Linked DNA regions of Homo sapiens: region 1 is linked to region 2. The links are contacts of gene promoters, found by promoter capture Hi-C in blood cells and fetal thymus (Javierre and others, 2016). All regions are on one chromosome and are shown on one strand. The core of a region is centred on a gene start or on the middle of the fragment in contact, and the rest is flanking DNA. Distances in the headings are between cores, read along the strand shown. Region 1 has its middle 22 kb from the start of EIF1B. Region 2 holds the start of VIPR1-AS1 (VIPR1 antisense RNA 1).

Region 1 (4,738 bases), core at 1,412-3,911, 2.2 Mb before region 2:
ACTCGAATCTCTGTGGAGGAGAGGGGCTTACATTTCTAACAAGTGCTCAGAAGGATTCGTGAGATCAGGCATGTTTGAAACACTAGCCTACAGAATATAAAAATATGGAAAAACCTGCCTTCATTCTGGAAACTAGAAAAAGGTACCCTGTATCTGTCTGAAACAGCAGCATTTTTCTGTTATCTATCATAAGGATGGGGCCAAAGGCAGCCTAGAAAGACAGCTCCAACACTCTAGTGAAAGATGGAAGTAGGAGAAAGTGGGGAAGACCAGTCACCAAACAGACCCCTACAAAGCCCTTGACTCAGAGGGCTGCAGGCAGGCCTGGAGGGGCCTCCAGGCTTCCATCCAAGGGGTATCTGCACTCCTGGAAGGCAGGGAGTGGGGCTTCCTGCTTGGCAACAGGGGAAACCACATGCACTGAAACCCTCATCTGGGGTCTGCTTCTCCTGGGAGGATGAATATAGGGAGGAAAATCAGCAGGATCACGAAGACATTACAATGTTGTGCACACCAAAATTTAACATAAGAATTCCCTTCCCTCTAGCAATTCACTTCTGGGAATTTATGACAAGTAAACAATCAAGCCGTGGGACAAAATTGAATGCATTCAGATGTTCAATGCACTATTGTTTATAACACTGAAAATTTTGAAACAACAGGAGAATGGTTAAATCAATGAGAACTGAAAAGGATTTAGGCAGGCAAAGAGTGGGAGGTGGCAAGCTTCAGAAGGAGGGCTTGGCAAACGCAAAGTCTTCCCGTGAGAAAGCAGTGGACCTGAGTGATTGGAGCACAGGATGGGGACATAGGTTGGCATGAGAGGAGTGAAGCTGAGAAGCAAGCCAATTAGACAGGGCCTCACAGACCATGGCAAGATGCATGAATGCTATCTGAGGGCATTGATGAGTTCCAAGCATGGGAGCAGAACAATTGGATTTATTCTAAGAAGCTGATTATGGCTGTTAGTCAGAGAGAGGAACGTACAGAAAGCAAGAGCAGAGGCGAAAAGGCCAATGAGAGGCTACTACACGTGGAATGATGGTGGTAAAGAGGCAGAGAAGTGGGTGGACAAGAGACTCGCTTGGAGATAGAATTAACAGGACTTGCTGTTGTGTTGGCCATAAGTGGCAAGGAAAAGATGACTTCCAGGATTTTATCTTTGGAAATTGGGTGGCTGGGAGTGACATTATTAAAATGAGGGAGGCTGGGGTAGAAAGACAGGATTGAGGAGTGGAAACAAGAATTCCATTTTGAACATGTTGAATTTTTTTTTTTTTAATAGAGACAGGGTCTCACTATGTTGCCCAACTGGTCTTAAAATCCTGGGCTCAAATGTTCCTCCCACCTCAACCTCCCAAAGTGCTGGGATTACAGGTGTGAGACATCACACCTACCCTGAACATGTTAAGTTTTAAATGCCTAAGAGACATCCAATCAGAGATGTCAAGCAACTAGTTGGATTTGTAAGTCTGGAGCTCAGAGAAGACATAAATTCAGGAGGTATCAGCCCATAGAATATTTTTAAAGCCATGAATGAATGAGTTTCTTTAGGAATGTATAAAGAGGGCCCAGAAGAAATCCATATGGAACACTAAAAACGCTAGTTTTGAAGAAGTATATCTGGTGTGACATCATTTTGGTTAAAAAACAAAGCCCCAAAATTCCATCATAACATAAACGCAGAAGATATCTGCATAAATAAATATTCATCTAACGGTTTATGGGGGTTATCTCTGGATAGTTGGGAGCAAAACGCTCATTGACACCCATGAAAGTCAGGTCTATGCCCAAGAACCTTTTTGCACCTGGTCTTTCCCAAATGGCTGCTTAAGGGACCCAGGAGGAGGAGCCTGGAAGTTATGGTGCCCGATTTGATGATGAACCTAGGAGAAGCCACTCTGCATTTGTTACCCAAGGGAATAGGAGGAATGGGAGGGCTTTCATTTTCTCAGTTGTATATTTCTGTCAACATTAAAACTTTTATAAAGAACATCATTATTACTTTTGTAGATAGAGAAAAACAATAAATAAAATTATTTTAAATGGTGGCATCCATTGTTGGTGAAGCCACTGTACAGTGGAAACGCACATCTCTTTGGAGAAAATGTGAATTGGTATGACTTTCTGAAATGACATTTGAATGAATTTGAATGAATTTCATGCAAATGAAATTTTATGTCAAGCTCCTTAAAATGTTCATATCTTTTCACATTCAGGCACCTATGCTAGGGAAATAATCAGAGATGGGTGTTAGGAACCATGGAAAGATTTCAGTAGTTTTAAGATAACAATTTGGCCTGGGTCCATGAACCCTACAAATGCCCCCAACTTGGCTGGGTCCAGCCATCCCTTATCTCCATAACATCTTTAAGGGAGCTGTACACACAAGGAACAAGGAATGTATGGGACACCAAATGACCACTGACGATTCCCTACCTCATGTCTGCACCTTTGCCTGCAGAACTCCATGGAGTGCGTGCTTCTTAGCCCAAGGCCCCAGGGAAGTTTCTCCCAAGCCCAGTTTCTGGATGAATACACATGAAATGGTGAGGTGGCTGAGTCCACTCTGGAAGACCGGGCCTCCTTGCGTGGTTGAGAGGAGAACATCAGAGACAGGGACCATGCTCAAATGCACCAGCTTTTAATAACTGGGTTTGGTACCATGGCTTGTCACCCCACTCCACCCCAACCACCAGAATAAAAACGTATTATTAGACTCTAGCAGAGGCCGACTCACCCTGAAACAAACACACTGGGACTTTCTGGTGCCTCGCCTGTCCAGGCCTCCTCCTTGCCCCTGAGCCTAGTATTGCATTCATTCATATGCTTTTATTCCTTTCTTAAAGGGGGTCTCTAAAACTGCATAAGTCTCAGGTCCCAGCAGACTGGGATGTTCTTGCTTTCAGAAATTTGAGATGGGAAATAAGAAAATAATCCAGCCGTTGGTGGTAGGAGCTGCAGCTGTCTGAAAGGAGGGATCATGAGGGACCCTGAGGAGAGCAGAGCAATGAGCACGCCAGAGATTTGTTTCAGCTGGCCTTGTGAGAGCACTAGGCCTGGAGAGTGAAAAGGAAGATGCAAGTGCCGGCAGAGCTGCGGTGTTGCGGGGAGGAGTGAATGAGTGAGTGTGATGATGCATGACTGCCTGAGCTTGCACTCTGCACAGTGAGTGCTTGCTGAACTTCGTCGGTATAGTTATTGTTAGCACTGCTGATATTACTGTGAAGGTCCGCGCACTCCATTTCCTGGGGTCCTTGGAGCCTGGTTCTGCTCTGGATAAAATGGTCAGGGAAGTCTAACACGCAGCTCTGAGTACACCCCCTGAAGGGGACAGAAGCTGAGAAATTGACCCTCCTCCACTTCACACGTACACCAGAATAGGGAGACCACGGGACAAAGCGCTCATTGACACCCATGAAAGTTAGGTCTGTCCCCAAGAACGCCTTTCCACCTGGTCTTTCCCAGATGGCTGCTTGAAGGGCTCAGGAGGAGGAGCCTGCAAGTCATGGTAACCGATTTGATGATGAACCTATGAGAAGCCACTCGCATTTGCTACCCCAGGCCACCCACATTGGTGTTCTTTGTTTCTACTACTAGTTTACAACATCTTTCTATTCTACTGCCAGGGAGGAAAAAAGGTGTTCCACAAAACTGCCCAAGAGGACATACCTAGGAGGAGCGTCTGACATCAGCGGGGATCTTTGTGCTGCCCTTTCAAACCCTCGCCTCACTAATTACCCAGCAGGAGACAGCCAGCTCCATCCATATTGGAGTTTCACCTTTAATTAAACTTTAATTCACTCATGCCTTATCCTTGTGGCCACATGCTGCTGGGAATCAGTGCCACAGCAACTTGGACCCAGGCCAGAACCTTGCAGAAGAACACCCAGAGGCATCACCAAGTAAAAATAGACTTTCCTGACTATTAAATCCAACACTGTACTCAGGGAACCAACAAGAGTGCTCTCAAGGAAAGCTGTGATCTGCCTATAGGCAAAGAATGGATGATTTCAGTAATTCCTCCCCTCCCCTCCCCGCCCCAACTACACAGGGAGACTCAAACAAACTAGGATTATACAATTACCCATTTAACTTCATCTCATTTCCGATAAGAAGTAATCAGGGGAAGCATAAGAAAACCAAGAACTTCCAACCACTCACATTTATGAAGTGCTAACTCCGTGCCAGGCATGATGGGGAAATGAGATGAAATCAGCTTTCTGTAGACATTGTCAGGGCCCTGCCTACTGTGCACCTGGCAGTCACCTACAGTTCCCACAGGCCCACAGCTTCCTACCCTACACATCTGCATGTCTCTGACAGGCCATTCTCTGGCTGTGGGCATGTGCGGCAAGTCAGCAGGACTGCCCGGAAGTGCCAGGGAGTTAATGCTCCAGGAGTGGTTCCAATGAGGGACAGGAGCTGGTGGACAAACACCCCAGCTTCCTCAACTATTGGTTCCACTTCTTCTCTCAGAATGTCTCTCAGAAGGTCCCCCAGGAGGGAGCCCCAGGTGACTGCCCTAGCCTCCAGCTCATTAATTCACCTTGTATTGGCTTTCATTCTTCTCTGACTCACTTCCCTTCTCTCTCACCAAGCTTTTAGGAATCACTTTTCAGATAAACTACTTGCACCCAATCCTAGTCTCAGTGTCAGCTTTTGGAGGAACACTAACGAAGACACAATTTTAGTCTTAACCTTGATGATAATGACACAAGTTAACTTTAATAAACGT
Region 2 (4,584 bases), core at 1,764-4,263:
TGGGGGCAGGGGGAGGCTTCTCTCTGAGGATGTCGCAAACCAAGGGTACAGGAAGGAAGGGTGGGAACCAATGTTTTGGGTACAGGGGGAAGTGGAAGCCAGACAGTTTCCTGGTGGAGGGTGGCTTTAAGCCCTGGCTGACAGACATCTAGGCTTGATCTGAAATGGGGGACTTTCTGGGAGGGGACAGAAGGCCCAGAATACCTTCCAGTCATGCCAAGTGGGCCACCCAGAGCCCTGTGATTGCTCTACTCATGGGTCTCCCTAACTCCTTCATGGTCCTCGTCTGCCTAAGAAACCCATTCTTCCACTCGGTCCTCTGAACCCCAGGAGGAATGGCCACCCCTCCCCTCTTCTCTTCTTCTTCATTTCTACTTCCCCCTCTTCCACCCTCTTCTCAGTCCCAGTCTCCCTCCACACTTCCATCTGGGCCCCACTCCACAGTCCACAGCCCTCCACTCCCCCACATTGAGCAGACTCTTGAAACTCAAGCAAGAATTCTCCCTCATACCTTCCAGCTACCTTCAATACAAATTGGCATTAGATGAATGAGTGGGTGGGGTGGGAGTGTGGATGGGCAGGTTGGTGGATGGCTAAGTAGGCAGCAGGATAAATGGGTTAAGTAAGGAAGATTGGACAGATGATAGGCAGAGGGGCAGGTAGGTAGATATGTGGGTGGATGCACAAGTGGATTGATGGGTGGGTGCAGAGATGAATGGATGGGTAGATGACTGAGTGGGTTGGTAGAAGAATGGAGAGATAGGTGTGTGGGTGGATGGATTGATAGATGGGAAGATGATAGATGATGGATGGACACATGGATAAAAAATGGATAAATGAGTGAGTTGATAGTGAATGTCTAGTGGGTGAGTGGGTAAATAAATGGATACATGGATAGGTGGGTAGATGATTGAATGGGCAGATGGGTAGATATATAGATGGGAAGGTGAATAGATGAATTGATGGATGGATAATTAAAATCACCAGTTTATCCCGAAGTATCAGAGGATCTAAAATTAGGGAAAATGGGAAAACCAATGAGTACATTTTTAAGGGGATAATGCAAAACAACAAAGAGATTAAGTTGGCTGCACTGCAACTGTGTTTGTCCCCCCAGACACGAGTGTGGGCAGTCAAGGACCCTTGACAGCCCCAGTGAACCCCGTCTTTTCTCCTCCCCCTGCAGGTGGGCTGTAAGGCAGCCATGGTCTTTTTCCAATATTGTGTCATGGCTAACTTCTTCTGGCTGCTGGTGGAGGGCCTCTACCTGTACACCCTGCTTGCCGTCTCCTTCTTCTCTGAGCGGAAGTACTTCTGGGGGTACATACTCATCGGCTGGGGTATGGTACCAGGGAGGGCTTCCAGGCTGGGGACAGAGGGGGCAAGGCCTGGAGAACTCCCTAGGGGGAGGGTGCCAACCCAGCTTGCAGTCCTACGTCTTGCTTAGCTGCAGGTCCTGCCTGCAAGGATATCAGCCAAGGGTCAAGAAAGTCCTCAAAATGTCTGATCCCAGGACAAGTCCCTCAGGTTGCAGCTGCACCTAGGGCTGACCTGTGGGACAGATTTTGTGAACATCTTTCCATTTCCCTTTAGTTCCCGAAATACACAGGGCCACTGCTAATCTATAAAGGGCCTCTGTCACAATTAGAAAGAGAATGTCCGTCTAGGTAGACACAGCCCTTCAGGCATACAGCTTCACCCCCTCAGTGGAGCATCCCTCCGTGGTGAACAACCTATGCAACCAAAGACAGCAGACTGACAACCCACCCTTTTCTCTCTCCCTCCCTCTCCCTGCTTTTCTCCAAAATCTCTCCCTCATGCCCTCTACCCCTGCTTCCTGTGCCCTCTCTGCTCTTTCACTCTCCCTGGGCCTGACAGGGGTACCCAGCACATTCACCATGGTGTGGACCATCGCCAGGATCCATTTTGAGGATTATGGGTGAGCTGCTGCCCCACACACTCCCCCGGCCGCCATCACTTGGGCAGGCCCCCTGGGTGGGATGATAATGCCATCTGGCCTTGGTGAGTGGACAAAAACCACAGCTCTCGGGCCAGAGGGGAGGCTGGAGGAGGACCTGGGGAGCAACAGACTCTGGGCCCGGGGTTGCTAAAGTGCTCAGGAGCAGAGCTGGGGACAACTGGGGGAGGTGCTGCTGAGTCTCTCTCTGGCTGAGGACAATCCCTCTCATTCCTCCCCACGGTCTGCTCAGGTGCTGGGACACCATCAACTCCTCACTGTGGTGGATCATAAAGGGCCCCATCCTCACCTCCATCTTGGTAAGATACCCTCCCACCACCTAGAGATGGGGAAACAGGCCCAAAGGGCAGGCAACTTAGCCCAAGGTCACATGGGAAATTAGTATCTAGGTCAGAACTGAAACGTAGCTTCCTAATGCCCAATGCAGGATCATCCCCACCCCTGTCCTACCAGTTCTTCCTTGAGCGTAAGCGGATTGGGAGCACAGTCCTTAGGGATTTGAAGGAGGTAGAGTTCCCGGATGACCTGCCCAAAGGGGAAATGCCAGAGGAGAGGTAAGATAGAGAGAGGGGCAGCAGGACCCTGGGAAAGAAGACAGGCCAGCAGTCAAGGGGCCTGAACACCTCAGCCTTCCCGCTCTGACTGCCCGAACTCGGGTCCCCACCCACTAGGTAAACTTCATCCTGTTTATTTGCATCATCCGAATCCTGCTTCAGAAACTGCGGCCCCCAGATATCAGGAAGAGTGACAGCAGTCCATACTCGTGAGTGTGGGCCTAGTGCCTCAGCCCCCAGTACCTCCATCCCCAGTCCTCAAATCATCCCACATCTCCTTGAAGTCCTCCCACCCCAAACATCCAGAGTCACCAAAGAGCCACATTGTTCTTTCCCACCTCCACCATGGCCTGGCTCAGCCCACCACCATCCCCTGCTCCAGCCCCACCCTCACCAGGCTGCACTCAGAGCCCTGCATGCTTCTCCTGCCCACACTCACCTAGCATCCTTCCCAGGTATGCATCTGCTGCCAAGCCAGGGAGCTCAAGAGGACACCGATGACCTGTGTCTTGTTCATACCATGTGCCCAGTCCCTGGCATGTGCCTCACATGGAAAAAGGGTGCAATAAACACATAGTAGATGAATGCCCTGGGGGAGACCCCAGTCCACCAATGAGACAGCCATGTTCGGGACTCAGTATTCCTCAGTAATAATGATGACACCTGCAGTTTACATGCCAGGCACACGCTAAGGGATTTCCATGCATCATGTCATTTCATCCACACAGTCCCCTGCAAAATTATCTTTACTTTACAGGGAGGAAATGACATACACTCCCTTCTCCTTGAGGGTTTTGGAGCAGGTCACCATGGGCAGGGAGAAGGGGGCACAATGTCCATGGACCAGGGCTTGGAAAGGTGTCAGGACTGTTCCCCCTGCTTGGGAGGACTGGAGGAAGAGGCAGGTTTTTTTGCGGGAGCAACAAGGCTTGAAGACAGAGCTAAAGAAACATGAAAAATATGAAAAGGGAGGCTGTGGGAAGGCAAGTAGGGTCTGCATGCTCACAGATGGGAGTAGGAGATTGAGTATCAGTGCTATTGACACAAGACAAACCTGGGACGTCCCACAAGGCCTTCCAGTCCTGGGATTCTTCTTGGCCTGGCTTCTCTTTGGAGAGTCTGTGCTGTGGTTCTAAGATTCCTGGCTAGAATGTCACAGACTGCTGGATTTAGGATTCTATTCTGGAATCCTGTGATTCTCCCTGATGAGACTAAGACTCACATTCCTGGTGTGACTGCATTCTCTCCTGCCAGGTGTGTAGGCGGAGCTTCCCTTCCTGTCTGAGAAGGAAAGGCTGGGGGGGACGGGGGGGGCATCTGCAGTCTGCTGAGGGGCAGCACATCGGGCCTGTGCACCCTTATCCTCTCCTTTGCCGATGGGACCTTATTTCCCCCAACTTACAATGGTTCAAAAGGGCCTGAATCTGAGGCAAACAGAGCTGGCCATGGTCAGGGCCAGGTCTGTGTGGTGAGACAGAAAGGAAACAGTTGTCAGCAGGCAAAAGGGGTGGGGGCAGTTGGAGATGAAGCTCCTCAAGGAGAAGCTGTCAGCTCCCACTCTACACCTCCCCATAAGCCTTTGATTTAAAGAAAGCCTCCATCTGTTAGCCTCCGGTGTGTGGGATAGTTTTGCAGCCGAAGAGGGGTGGGCATTGCTCAGGATCTTGGCATGGCTGAGAACCAGGTCCAGGAAGGAGTGGGAGGGGCAAGGCCAGCTCCTCTGCCCCCAGCTTGCTGTGGGACCTCAGGCCTTGGGCTAGACTTCCTTGGACTGACTGCTAAGGCAGGAGAGACAGAGTCAGAGACCCTCCCTATCCACACCCCACCTCTCCTAGCCAGGGAGCAATGGGTTCACACTGCCTGGATCAGCTATGAGGTCAGGTGGCTGGGAGGCCTGAACCAGGAAGAGCTCTGGGCCATGGGAGGCGGGTGAGCATTTAGAATGAATGCTGACCCTACTGAGCACACAAAGCTGTGAAGAAGGAGCTGGTCCTTCAGAGCACGCTGGGAGTATATGCACTGGTGTGGGGAGGTAGGAGGAGGGGGATGCAA

Evidence for each region. The method cuts DNA at HindIII sites, captures the fragments that hold promoters and counts their contacts. A CHiCAGO score of 5 or more calls a contact.
Region 1: a contact is called between a fragment that was not itself captured here and the fragment with the promoter of VIPR1-AS1 in region 2, in 1 of 17 cell types (total B cells). The highest score is 6.0, in total B cells.

Annotation. Positions count from the first base shown.
Region 1 is chr3:40,329,756-40,334,493 of GRCh38, forward strand. No RefSeq gene overlaps it. Among named protein-coding and RNA genes, the nearest start is that of EIF1B, 22 kb to the left of the region's middle. The HindIII fragment of the contact is 3,875 bases long and covers 725-4,599 here.
Region 2 is chr3:42,529,593-42,534,176 of GRCh38, forward strand. It overlaps VIPR1-AS1 (VIPR1 antisense RNA 1), which reads right to left and starts at 3,014. Exons shown (of 3, transcript NR_046654.1): 1 at 2,972-3,014; 2 at 2,429-2,503; 3 at 1,304-1,366. It overlaps VIPR1 (vasoactive intestinal peptide receptor 1), which reads left to right. Exons shown (of 13, transcript NM_004624.4): 7 at 1,187-1,340; 8 at 1,879-1,939; 9 at 2,211-2,277; 10 at 2,650-2,741. RefSeq lists an enhancer at 3,787-4,288. The HindIII fragment of the contact is 10,773 bases long and covers 1-4,584 here.